4 separate regions of the Homo sapiens genome follow, and regions 1, 3 and 4 are each linked to region 2. Evidence: promoter capture Hi-C in human tissues and cell types (Jung and others, 2019). All regions are on one chromosome and are shown on one strand. The core of a region is centred on a gene start or on the middle of the fragment in contact, and the rest is flanking DNA. Distances in the headings are between cores, read along the strand shown. Region 1 overlaps PIK3CB (phosphatidylinositol-4,5-bisphosphate 3-kinase catalytic subunit beta). Region 2 holds the start of FOXL2 (forkhead box L2). Region 3 has its middle 18 kb from the start of PISRT1. Region 4 overlaps LOC124906290 (a long non-coding RNA gene).

Region 1 (3,066 bases), core at 28-2,527, 260 kb after region 2:
CACTTGATTTCAGTGTTGAAAAGTGCAAATACATGGATTCCAAAATGAAGCCTTTGTGGCTGGTATACAATAACAAGGTATTTGGTGAGGATTCAGTTGGAGTGATTTTTAAAAATGGTGATGGTAAGTACTGAGATTTTTAACATCAAATTTCTTAGAATTTTTCATTTGTTGCCATTTTGCTTTATCTGAAAGGTGATGTGTAGTGTAAGTGTGTAACAATTTGCAGCCAGGAAGGTAGCTATTAATGGTCCTAAAGTCAAGTTGAACATGTCCTAAATGCTTTTTTTTTCCCCCTCTTATAAAATGATTTATACCATTCACTTAAATATACTGTCCTAATGAACCTTCTTTTATTTCCCCCTACAAAATACAAAACGCGCCTACTCCTTTGATTAAAAAGCTTATGAAATACAAGATATTATTTTTACTTTTTTTTTTTTTTTTTTGAGACAGGGTCTCACTGTCACCCAGCCTGGAGTGCAATGGCACGATCTTGGCTCACTGAAACCTCCACCTCCCAGGCCCAAGTGATCATCCTACCTCAGCCCCCAGAGTAGCTGGAACTACAGGCACACACCACCACACCTGGTTCACTTTTTGTATTTTTTGTAAAGATGGGGTTTCACCATGTTGACCAGGGTGGTATTGAACTCCTGAGCTCAAGTGATTTACCCACCCCGGCCTTTCAAAGTGCTGGGATTACAAGCATGAGCCACCGTGCCCAGGCAAGGATATTTTCAGTAATATATTCATACATCTTGTTTCAGTGATAGCAATATTGATTTTGCTGCCATAGTTTTGTATTTTGATGAAAGTACCTAACAGACCCAAAATGTGTAAAGGAAATGCCTCTGAAGTAATCATACCAGCCAATAGGCAGTGGTGACTTGTTAGTTATGTGACTACAAACAAGGCACAGAAAACTGATTGAGCTTCAGGTTTTTCATATCCTTGAGAATTATAGCATCTGTATGTCAGGGTTATTAAAAGGAATTGAGATAACATAAGCAAATGTGCTTATCAGAATATGTGCTTACAACTTAAAAAGAACTCATAGGGTTTTGCTAAACATTTAATGTCACTTGACCATACAAATGTCATTATGTGGATGTCACTAGTTTCATGTGCTCTCTTCCCTGAAAATACCCTTAGACATGATAATAAATTGAACCATTACAGTTTTGTGACCTCGTGATGCAGTTACTTACGTGATTCTTAAGAACTCTCCGTATAGTGGTAAAAGCAAGCAAGAAGGAAAAAATTAACCATGTAATTAATGTAATACACATACAGTGTAATACAAACAGTATTACAGCATACAATTAGTACCCCTGAACCCATGTGTTATCCTCTCGGACCTCTAGTAAGTGACTGTGCTTTGCGCAGTGAATCTCCTGTGAATAGCAAGCAGAAAGTCACTGCCTTATGGGAGTAGTAGGGCCAGCTGTCAGCCTCGGGAGGTAGAATATAATCAAGGAAGGAAAATCTTAAAAGTTCTCCGAAGCTATGCTTATATTCAATAGGATGTAACTTACACATGGCAAACAATTTAAAAAATCTTTTAATTTAATGTCTGAAATAATGTCACAGGGACATGCTATCCAAAGAGTGTAATATTTGTTATAAAATTAGTGAAAATATTAGCACAGAGTTTGTTAATGTTTTTAGTTAATTCTGAGTTAGTCTTGAATTAATGAGTTACAGGGCATAAAAGGAAAAGCACTTGTAATGAAGCAGTTTGTTTTCCCTTAGATTTACGACAGGATATGTTGACACTCCAAATGTTGCGCTTGATGGATTTACTCTGGAAAGAAGCTGGTTTGGATCTTCGGTGAGATCTAGTCTTTTTTTTTTTTTCAGTCTAATGTCTTCCCATAGCAAAAATATCTAGAATTTCTTGTTAATTCCTTCCCTCTTGTTCTTATTTTTAGTTGTTGTTCATAATAATATTTATATAGCACTTTAGAATGTACTTTCAAATATGTTGTCTTGCCTAAACTTTTTCAGTTTAAAACTACACATGTTACTGAAATTCCAGAAAGAAGGAATAGGTTTGAACTTTAATAAGGTTTGGACAGACAGCCAGAATTACATTCCAACCTATGGTGTTGAAAGATGTACTGTGGGTCATGGCAATGACAAGGCCAGAGAAAGTCCTGTGCCTTTTTATACTTAGTCCAGGGACATTGATTTCTCTACCTACCAAGGGAAAAGAGAGGAAAATGTTTAGGTGCATTCTCAGGTTTTTAGTTTGCCACCATCAATAGGGGTAGATAGTGAGCGGAAGAGGTTTGTGGTGTCGTGACAGAAAAAAGGAAACATAAAATCAAGCCTCAGACTGGGAATCGTATTCACAATGAACAGAACAAGGGGTAAATATTTAAAGAGCCCATAGAAGTGAACATAAGGAAAAGATGTGAAAAGGCATTTTATAAAAAGTATAAAAACAAACTAATAGGCATGTTGGCACACACCTGTAATCCCAGCACTTTGGGAGACCAAAGCGGGCAGATCACTTGAGGTCAGGAGTTTGAGACCAGCCTGGCCCACATGGTGAAACCCTGTCTCTTCTAAAAATACAAAAGTTAGCCAGGCGTGGAGCACATGCCCGTACTCCCAGCTACTCTGGTGGCTGAGGCATGAGAATCGCTTAAACCCGGGAAGTGGAGGTTGCAGGGAACAGAGATTGCACCACTACACTCCAGGCTGGATGACAAAGTGAGACTCTGTCTCAAAAAAAAAAAACAAAAAAAAAACTAACATGAAAATTGTCAGTTCCAATTAAGAAGTACAGATTATAAGAACAATTGGGCCGTGCATGGTGGCTCACTCCTGTAATCCTAGCCCTTTGGGAGGCCGAGGCAGGTGGATTGCCTGAGGTCCCGAGTTCACGACCAGCCTGGCCAACATGGTGAAACCCAGCTCTACTAAAAATACAAAAAATTAGTAGGTTGTGGTGGCAGGAGCCTGTAATCCCAGCTACTCGGGAGGCTGAGGCAGGAGAATTGCTTGAACCTGAGAGGCGGAAGTTGCGGTGAGCGAGATCATGCCACTGCATTCCAG
Region 2 (2,852 bases), core at 234-2,733:
ACTCCAGACATGCCAATCACTAATGCACAGCTATATGACATCCATTCAGTCCACCTTCCTCCATAAGGTGGCCTTGCCCCCCTCCTCAGCACCAAGGAGTTTGGGGCTTGAGGATTCAAAACACTGGCCATCTCTCTCATACTTTATGACTGCAGACTTTTTGTTTAGGCCAAGTTAAAAGGCACTGTTAAGGAGCACACTGTTAAAAGGCACACCTGATTTTCCCTGAAACAATCTCTGTACATGCTGAAATAATTGGATTCCCATCAGAATTCTGCTTAAGGTAGGTGACAACTAACTCCTGATTCTTTGGAGAAAGATCAGAACAAATGTCTCATCAGGAGAGAGATTTGAACAAGTCCCTCCCTCAGCCTGATGTTTGTCTTCCCAGTCTGTGGCAAAATACATACACTGGGAGGGAAAGAGGCATCGAAGAATTGTGAAAGAAAGGAAGAAAGGGGGGAAGGAAAGAAGTAAGAAAGGAGAAAAAGAGAAGATGCTATATCCACCAGCTACATTTACTCTAATACTTGATGAACATATTACATAACTATCAGTATAAGTGTGTTTTACCTCGTAAATACAAATCTCACACCTTGTACATGTGCATACCTGTGTTTCTGAGCAGCACACATGCACCTGGTATCTCACCCATCTCAAGGACAGCTCCTCTCCATGACTTCCATATGTGACCCCTGTGCACACACATACACAGTCCCGCAAAGTCCCGGGCAACAGCCCCGCCTGTGTTAGTGCAATAGCTGAGGGGCATCTACTTGGTGCTGTTAAAGCACACATCCAACCTTCACTCCAACCCCGTAGGATTAGTACACGGATTCCTGGTTCCTAGATCCACTGGTAACGCAGGGAGAGGCAGAGGTGATTCAGGCGGCGCCCCTGACGACTATTTCCAGAGATCCTCTCCCCTGCCCCATTCCAGCCCAGTCACTCTGAGAGCGCGAGGGACAGGCCAGGCCGAGGCTTCTTCGTACAGTCACACCCGTTTCTGGGCTGACTTTCCCAAAGCCTCAGAGCAGCTCTCCCCACCCTACCCCGTCCAGCCCCCTCGCCGTCTCGCCCCTCCCCAGCCCCGAGCTAGAAGTTCAGCCTCAAGACGGCAGCAAACGGCAGAGCAAAGGAGTCGTTTTCTTTCACCTGAAAGCCGCGAGGAGGCTTGGAGCGCCTTTCCTCGCTGGGGCCCGAGCTTCCTGGGCTTTGGCCGGGTGCGGGCAGACCCCACCGGGGTCCTCGTCATCTCCCAGCCCAGCCCGCAGAGCGAGTACCGGCAGATTTCAAGGGCGCGTGAGCCTGGCTGTCGGCTGGGCCCCTGAGGCTCGCTGGGCGGGGGCAGGCCGGTCCAGGCTGTGCGGGGCGTTTACAAAAAGTGACTTGGAGATGAACTCGCCCGTGCGCGGCTGGCCGCCCCGCTATAGGGGCGAAGGCGCCTGACGCAAGCGGAACTCGGTGGAGCCCATACGAATCAGAACAGAGCGAGGCTCCTGGCGCACTAGGGACTCCAGGAGGCAGCTCCGCCAGAGACGCGGGTCGTGCTTCGGGAAACCGGGGGGCGGGGGGAGGGGAAGAGCGCAGAAAAGAAAACCCACCAAGGCGGGGACTGGCCTGAGCGGGGAGGGGCGGCGAGGCCGGAGCCCCTCTCTGTTGGGCGGACTCCCCATGGCCAGAGGCTGAGCTCCACTCCCGCCGGCCGCTCCCTAGGGGAAGGGGAAGGAGAGGGGAGAGCAGCGACAGGCCTCCAGCAAGCAAGCGCGGGCGGCATCCGCAGTCTCCAGAAGTTTGAGACTTGGCCGTAAGCGGACTCGTGCGCCCCAACTCTTTGCCGCGCCAGCGCCTGGAGCGGAGAGCAGAGGCGGCCCGGCCGCGGCGCGCCGGCTTTGTCATGATGGCCAGCTACCCCGAGCCCGAGGACGCGGCGGGGGCCCTGCTGGCCCCAGAGACCGGTCGCACAGTCAAGGAGCCAGAAGGGCCGCCGCCGAGCCCAGGCAAGGGCGGTGGGGGTGGCGGCGGGACAGCCCCGGAGAAGCCGGACCCGGCGCAGAAGCCCCCGTACTCGTACGTGGCGCTCATCGCCATGGCGATCCGCGAGAGCGCGGAGAAGAGGCTCACGCTGTCCGGCATCTACCAGTACATCATCGCGAAGTTCCCGTTCTACGAGAAGAATAAGAAGGGCTGGCAAAATAGCATCCGCCACAACCTCAGCCTCAACGAGTGCTTCATCAAGGTGCCGCGCGAGGGCGGCGGCGAGCGCAAGGGCAACTACTGGACGCTGGACCCGGCCTGCGAAGACATGTTCGAGAAGGGCAACTACCGGCGCCGCCGCCGCATGAAGAGGCCCTTCCGGCCGCCGCCCGCGCACTTCCAGCCCGGCAAGGGGCTCTTCGGGGCCGGAGGCGCCGCAGGCGGGTGCGGCGTGGCGGGCGCCGGGGCCGACGGCTACGGCTACCTGGCGCCCCCCAAGTACCTGCAGTCTGGCTTCCTCAACAACTCGTGGCCGCTACCGCAGCCTCCCTCACCCATGCCCTATGCCTCCTGCCAGATGGCGGCAGCCGCAGCGGCTGCAGCAGCTGCGGCTGCAGCCGCGGGCCCCGGTAGCCCTGGCGCGGCCGCTGTGGTCAAGGGGCTGGCGGGCCCGGCCGCCTCGTACGGGCCGTACACACGCGTGCAGAGCATGGCGCTGCCCCCCGGCGTAGTGAACTCGTACAATGGCCTGGGAGGCCCGCCGGCCGCACCCCCGCCTCCGCCGCACCCCCACCCGCATCCGCACGCACACCATCTGCACGCGGCCGCCGCACCGCCGCCTGCCCCACCGCACCACGGGGCCGCCGCGCCGCCGC
Region 3 (3,042 bases), core at 37-2,536, 310 kb before region 2:
CTTCTATGTTTCTGGACACTGGGCCACGCTTAGGAGTACAAAGATGAATATTGCAGGACTCCTCTCAAGGAAATCAAGTGAAGGAGATGGCAAGTAACAGACAGTAGCTGCCAAGTGAGATTGGTGCCCTGGAGTTGGAGCTTGGAGTGGAGGGCCGGGGTGGGCGGCGGGAGGTGCTGGGTTCTATTCCAGCTCTGCTCTCACTTGCTGTGTCCATGAGCATTAACTTAGCCTCTCTGAGCTCCAGGTTCATCTGTAAAATAGAGATGATCACACCTGCCCAAGTACTCCCTACTGTGAGGAGACTGGCTGAAGTGTTGAAATTCAGAACGTTTCTTTCCAGGGTTGCTAGAAACTTCAAGGAGAAGCTGAAATGGAGGCCGGAGGTAACAGAAACAGTTGGAAAGAAAGCAAGCCAGCAACAGAGCAAGCCAGGATCATTGCCCTCTGGCTCCCACGGCCTCTACCCTCAGCACTATCGACATGAAGGGGAGCTGCTGAGGACTTCCCAAACCAAAAGGGAAAACAAGTGCATTCTTGAGATTAGCTGAGACAAACAACAGCCGGGAGCCTCATGTTCCCATGGACCCTGCCGGGGCTGTCCCCAGAAGAGGGGCTGGGCTGGCCTCCGGTGGAAGAAGGCCAAGCATTTTGAAAGGGCCACACCTGTGAAAAGGCACTCCCTCTGGCACTTGTCCTGGTTCCGGGGACCACACTTTGGGCTTCTACTCTGTGTTTCCCATGGCTCAGGGCTCAGTGCACAGCTGAGTTCCTTTAGCCCCCCAACACCTGTTGACCTACTGGGGACCAGAGCCTGCATCAGGCTTGGGGGGCATAAAATGGTAAATAGAGCCACCACCCCTGAGTCTTCTGAGGAGTCCTTGTGTGCCCTGTGGAGTGAGCTGGAAGGACCAACAGTATGGTCTATGCTGAGACAGGTTCAAGGACCTGGGGTCAGAAGGAACCCTGAGGCTTGCTTCCCAGTGGGGGTGGCCACAGAACAGACCCCTAGAGCCAAGATCATCAGGCAGTTATTCATGGAGATGAATAGCCAGGGCTTCACTACTGATCCAGAGTTCTGACCACCTCAGGTCTCTGAAGTGCAGAGCCATAACCCTGGCTCATTTCACCTCTGCAGATCCCATCAGTGCCCTGGCTTGGTGGAAATCTCAGAAGTATAATATTCTACTCCTCAAGAGGGCTTACAGCTTCGTCCGCCCCCCTCTCAGGATGGTTATGTCTAAGAGGGCAGGCCTTACCCCAAAGGACTGAGTATCTCGGGTTAGATTTTCAGGCATCAGATGGGTCAACAGCCTCAGGCCCTGAACTTCACTAAACAAGGACATGCCTCCTCTACCCACATGAGAGGCCTTCCTCAAGCATCTCGAGAGTTGTCAGGGCTATCTATCTCTCAGTCCTGGAAGGAAAGGACAGAGGCCCCATGGCTGAGGGGTGTCCCCAAGCTGGCCCCCTTCACTCAGCTTGGTCCCTCTTTTCTCTTCTTCCCCTGTTTTCCCCCTTACCAGCATGCCCTGAATATTCACCAGGGCCAGGACAGACCCTCAGAGCCCCAGAAGAGGCTAGATGAAGCGGCAGATGCAGGAAAAGGACATTATCTTGAGTGACTGGACAGGGGTCAGACTACAATGGACAAAGGGGCAGGCCTGGGCCCAGCTGGGAACAGCCTTGTGCCAATGGGGAGGTGGGATTGGGCAATCAGAAGTACACACTCAAGGCAACGATTGCAGCAGTAGCATGGCAAAGAACTGAAAGAGAAACTAAGGGTGCCTATCTCTACCTCGGCTGCAGTGAGAGTAGCAGCAAAGGAACCGAGGGAGTTCTGCCTTTGCTTTTCATAGGCAAGGTAGCCAGGCCTTAGGGTTTTGAGTTCTAGACTTCCTACTCCCTAGAGATTTTAGTTTCACAGTAGGAAAAATGAAGAAAGAGAAGTTGCCTGGAGTCAACTGCAAATGAGGTTCCTTTCTAAAGGTCTACATCCATGGAGATAGTCAAGGAGTAAGGAGGAGGCCGGGGCTGGACGAGGAGAAGGAAATGGAGTTGGGGAAGAGAAAGAGGTAGAGAGGAGAAAGAGGGGAGGAGGAGGAAGAAGGAGGGAGGAGGAGAGAGGAGGAAAAAGGAGGGAGGAGGAGAGAGAAGGAAAAGGAGAAGAAGGGGAGGAGCAAGAGGAGGAAATAGAGAAGCAGAGAAGAGGGAGGATGAAGAGGAGGTCAGGGAGCAGGAGGAGGCAGAGAGATCCTGGGCCTGGGAGGTCAGAATTCCATGGGTAGAGGATCCATGCCTGCTGGTGCACAAAGCCCTAAAAGTGACAAGGCTCTAAATGGGGTGGCCACATAGGGCTGTCCAAACTTTGAACACTATGTGTTATATACTTACCAGCCGCAGAGAAGGTCCCCGAGGCCAAGCCTGTGGTGGGACAGAGCTGATACAGTTGGCAGAGCTGCTGTCTTGGAACAGATCTGGTGGGTCTGCTCAGATGTGTCTGGGCAGCTGCAGACAACAGGCTTTGCCCCCATGAGCTTCTGAGGCCTCCAGAGTTCCAGGCTCCTGCTCTTCTCAGGGTAGGGAGAAGGAGCCTCACTCCACAAAAAGTGACCTTTTGTGATCCTCAAGTTTTGTAGATCAATTTTCAGCTGTTTGATACCAGTTATCAGGTTGCTCTTCTGTGCAATTTTTCTCTGCTTGATATGCGGTAAAAATAATTTTTAAGAATAAATTTGCTTTAAAAATAATAAATAGTCCATAGAGATTATATCAAGATGGCACACTGAACATATGTGTCTGCCTGCCTTTTCACAAATGACCAAGTCAAAACCAAAACAAAACAAAAAACAAAAATTAGATTTTTGGCTGATGGAATTCAGCCAAAGACATCAGTCAAAGACCCTCAACTAGGGACCACTGTGAAATATGGTACAACTCTGGGGATGCTCCAAGCTAAAAGGTGGCTGGAATAGGGAGTACAAATAAGTGACCATTGGCATGGTTGTTTGGGGCATGGCATCTGGAACATTTAGGCAAGTG
Region 4 (3,237 bases), core at 514-3,013, 340 kb before region 2:
CAGGAGAGAATTCCAGGCAGAGGGGATGACACATACAAAGGCCTGGGTGATGGGGGGATTCTAAGCACTTCCTGGGGTCCCTCTGAAAGGTAGAGAATGACTGGGCATATCTGGATGCAGACCCAGCACAAGGGTGAGGCTGGCAGGGCTAAATAAAGACAGGATCTGCCCCACACCTACACAATTCACCTTACTTCCCTCTCTCTGATCCCGTCTTGTCAGTCCACATCTTCGTCAATACTCATATTCTGTTCATCATGGATTTTTTTTCATTAATTTTGGTTTTTAAAAGATTGCACTAAAACATTATTTATTTTGATTGCTGAGTTTTTTGGTGCCCCCTTAAATTCTGCACCCAAGGTGGGTGGGCTCCTCATTCACCTCATCCTCATCCTGGCTCATTCAAGAGAAGAGGCCTAGAAGTGGGCAGGACAGGGCCCAGGAGTGACCCTTTCAGCTCAGGACTTTACCCTTCACCCTGAAGGCAGCCGGGAGCCACCGGGGATGGTGAAGCAGGGAAGTAACCCCATCAGATGTATTTTAGAAAGCCTCCTGGCAGCGGCAGGGTGGAGGGGGGCAGGAGGCAGAGGGCTTAAAAGCAGAATCCCAGGTGACAGCCAATGAGGGCCCAAGTCAAGGCCAGGAAAATGGAGTTTAGGAGGAAGGCCTGGTCAGGAGCAACACACACTGAAGATTCTAGCAGGCCCAGCATCCAGCCTCCCTAGGCTGTCTTTGGCAAAGGGTGGGTAGAGAATACCCAGATCTTCCAATGGGCAGAGTGAGATGTAGGGTTAAAGTGGTCAGATGACCTGGTTGCAGCTGCCTGGGGCCAAGCTGAGCCCTGCCATGCCCACCCTACAGGCTGGAGCTGTCCAGCTCCCTGCTGGATAGGGGCCATTTGCAGGGCTCTTTTCCCCACTTTGCCCCCACCCCACCCCCTAGCCTAGCCCAGTAGGTCCTGGGCCCTTAGGCAGGACAGGGGCCCCAGGAGCAACGATCTCAGCTCAGCACGCAGGCATAAAGACACACAGGCAGGGAGGTGGGAGGGCAAAAGGAGGTCTGGTCCCCATTAGGGGCCATTTGCTTGTGGTATCAGGCCATTGGGGCTGCGGGCTGGTTAACAGGCATGGCCACGGGCTGCTGGGAAGGAGCTGCTGCCTTGAAATCGCATTGATTGGCTCTAATTTTTCCTGCTCCACACAGGGGGCCCAAAGGCAGCTTAATGCAGGCTGGCAGCCGTAGCAGCCCAAGACAGGATGTCTCTCATGACTAAGAAAAGACAGGGGGCTTCATTTTCTCCAACTGGTGCTTCCAGATAATGCAATTTACTGTCACTAAAATCTCAGCTGGTCAAATTCCACCTCTTCCAAGAAGCCTTCCTGCCCTTTCTAACCCCTGGGCTCTGACATCAGGCACATCTGGGTCCCTTCCCATCTCTGTGTCCTCCCCTTATCCCCCTAACCCCTTTGAAAGCCTCAACTTGTTTCTCTCGCTGCAGGAATGGACGGGCAGGACCCCCATGGCAGACATGTGGTGACAATGATGGGGTGACATAATGATGAGGCACCCTGCTCTGCACAGACCTTCTCTTCTCAGAGCAGGCCTGGCCTTCATATCCAGATGCCTGCCACTGTCCCAATCCCACACCCTAACCCCACCGGATTTGATACACTTCTCTGAAGCTACATGGGAGGAACCTGGTTTTCTCCTTTGAGGACACAGCCCACCCCCACCAAAGAATCCAGGCCTCCAGACCTGAGGGCAAATTTCCCTCTTCCATTTTCTTGCTCACTGCCCACTGTTGTTTTATCTTTTCTCCCTTCTCTCCCTCTCTGCCTCCCCATCACTGGCTTCCCTGGGTAGCATCTCAGGGCCTGCAAATGCTGGGCTCCTGGCTTCTCCCTCTGGCCATTTCTCTGCCTTCATCTTCTTCATCTCCTTATTCTCCAACAAGCTTCCAGCTCTTTCCTTCTTCATTCAGCAATATTTATCAAATAGTCTTTAGTGCCTGCCATGTGCCAAAGGCTGTGCTAGGCCCTGGGCATAAATGGATGGGCCGACATAGGGAATGTCCTAACCATGTCCTCTTGCTTTCTGTCATTTCTGTCTTCACTTTGGGGTCCTTCTTGGGCTGGGAGGGAAACCAGGCCTGCCCTGTCACCACAGAGCGGAGCAAAGCCAGGACCTTGACAGACCATCGTTGCTTCCCTCCCTCCTACTCCAGCCCACACCTGCCTAGGGACGCAGAGGCGCTCCCACTACTCTCTTCCTCCCCCTCTCCCTCCAGGGGCTATTCCTTCCCCCATAAGGTGAGTGAATGAGGAGTAGGGCACCTCCTTTTTTAGTCAGCTCCATCGTGGGGATGGGACAGTGGAAGACAGAGAGGCACAGGAGAAGAGCAGAGAGGACCGAGTGGTGAGGTCACCACAGAGTCAGGCCCATAAAGTGCTGCTTCCTCTGCTGGCCTGGCCAGCAGCCCCAGATCGTTTCAAAGGGCTTGATAAACAGCTTGGCAACCTTATCTCCCCCACACCCCACAGCACAGCATTACAGACTGGGAGAGGCAGCCGTCCTGGCCAGCCGGCCGGCAGCAGCACCGAGGGTAAGGTGCTCCTCTGCTGGGTCAAGGTGCTCCAGGCTCCTTTCTGAGCCCCACAACTGGCCGCCTTCTGGCAGCCACACAGCTGCAATCCCTGCCTGGTCTTGTGAAGCACATCTGTTCACAGTCAGGGGTCAGTGCCCATCCAGGAGCAAGGCAGCATCTACTCAGACCCCCAAGTGTGTATACCCGAGCCTGCATGCACCCAGGCACATGTGGGCACTCTGCACACCACAGATGCCTGCAAAGACACACAGGCACCCCCATGTGTCCACAGGCCCCAGTGCACCCTCAGGTTCACACACATATACTCACATAAGTAAGAATATGTTCAGTCCAGGAATTATATAGCCAGGTGGATTGCAGGAGCAGGGAGGAGTTCTTTCAAATGAAAAATAAAATATGGGCAAAGGAAATTCTGAAACAGCTTTAAAAGAAAAAAAGTAGAAGGAGCCAAGCCAACATCTTAGTGCTTCTGATGCTATCAGATTGGACTGAACTAACATGGGGGCTCAGTCTTGTTCCTCAGGGTTTTGTTCTCCTCTTGGGGCACATCCAGCCCTCTGCCTGGCAGGGCCCAGCAGTGGGGAAGAGAGAGGAACCCTGGCCTGCGCTAGGAGCATCAGGACAGAGGCAGC

What was found. Contacts are between HindIII fragments. The study calls those that stand out against the background at their distance.
Region 1: a fragment that was not itself captured here is called in contact with the fragment with the promoter of FOXL2 in region 2 in 1 of the 25 tissues and cell types used here (dorsolateral prefrontal cortex).
Region 3: a contact is called between a fragment that was not itself captured here and the fragment with the promoter of FOXL2 in region 2, in 2 of the 25 tissues and cell types used here (aorta and pancreas).
Region 4: a contact is called between a fragment that was not itself captured here and the fragment with the promoter of FOXL2 in region 2, in 2 of the 25 tissues and cell types used here (H1 embryonic stem cells and IMR-90 fibroblasts).

Annotation. Positions count from the first base shown.
Region 1 is chr3:138,680,735-138,683,800 of GRCh38, reverse strand. PIK3CB (phosphatidylinositol-4,5-bisphosphate 3-kinase catalytic subunit beta) reads left to right here. Exons shown (of 24, transcript NM_006219.3): 18 at 14-123; 19 at 1,756-1,834. Among named protein-coding and RNA genes, the nearest start is that of FAIM, 73 kb to the right of the region's middle. The HindIII fragment of the contact is 7,556 bases long and covers 1-3,066 here.
Region 2 is chr3:138,945,768-138,948,619 of GRCh38, reverse strand. It overlaps FOXL2 (forkhead box L2), which reads left to right and starts at 1,483. Exons shown (of 1, transcript NM_023067.4): 1 at 1,483-2,852. The coding sequence starts at 1,898. FOXL2NB (FOXL2 neighbor) reads right to left here and starts at 1,403. Exons shown (of 3, transcript NM_001040061.3): 1 at 1,156-1,403. The coding sequence starts at 1,255. RefSeq lists a silencer at 1,239-1,467. The HindIII fragment of the contact is 6,167 bases long and covers 1-2,852 here.
Region 3 is chr3:139,250,447-139,253,488 of GRCh38, reverse strand. No RefSeq gene overlaps it. Among named protein-coding and RNA genes, the nearest start is that of PISRT1, 18 kb to the right of the region's middle. The HindIII fragment of the contact is 9,789 bases long and covers 1-3,042 here.
Region 4 is chr3:139,287,944-139,291,180 of GRCh38, reverse strand. It overlaps LOC124906290 (a long non-coding RNA gene), which reads right to left. Exons shown (of 2, transcript XR_007096115.1): 2 at 1-3,237. Among named protein-coding and RNA genes, the nearest start is that of MRPS22, 54 kb to the left of the region's middle. RefSeq lists a silencer at 1,721-1,949. The HindIII fragment of the contact is 4,701 bases long and covers 1-3,237 here.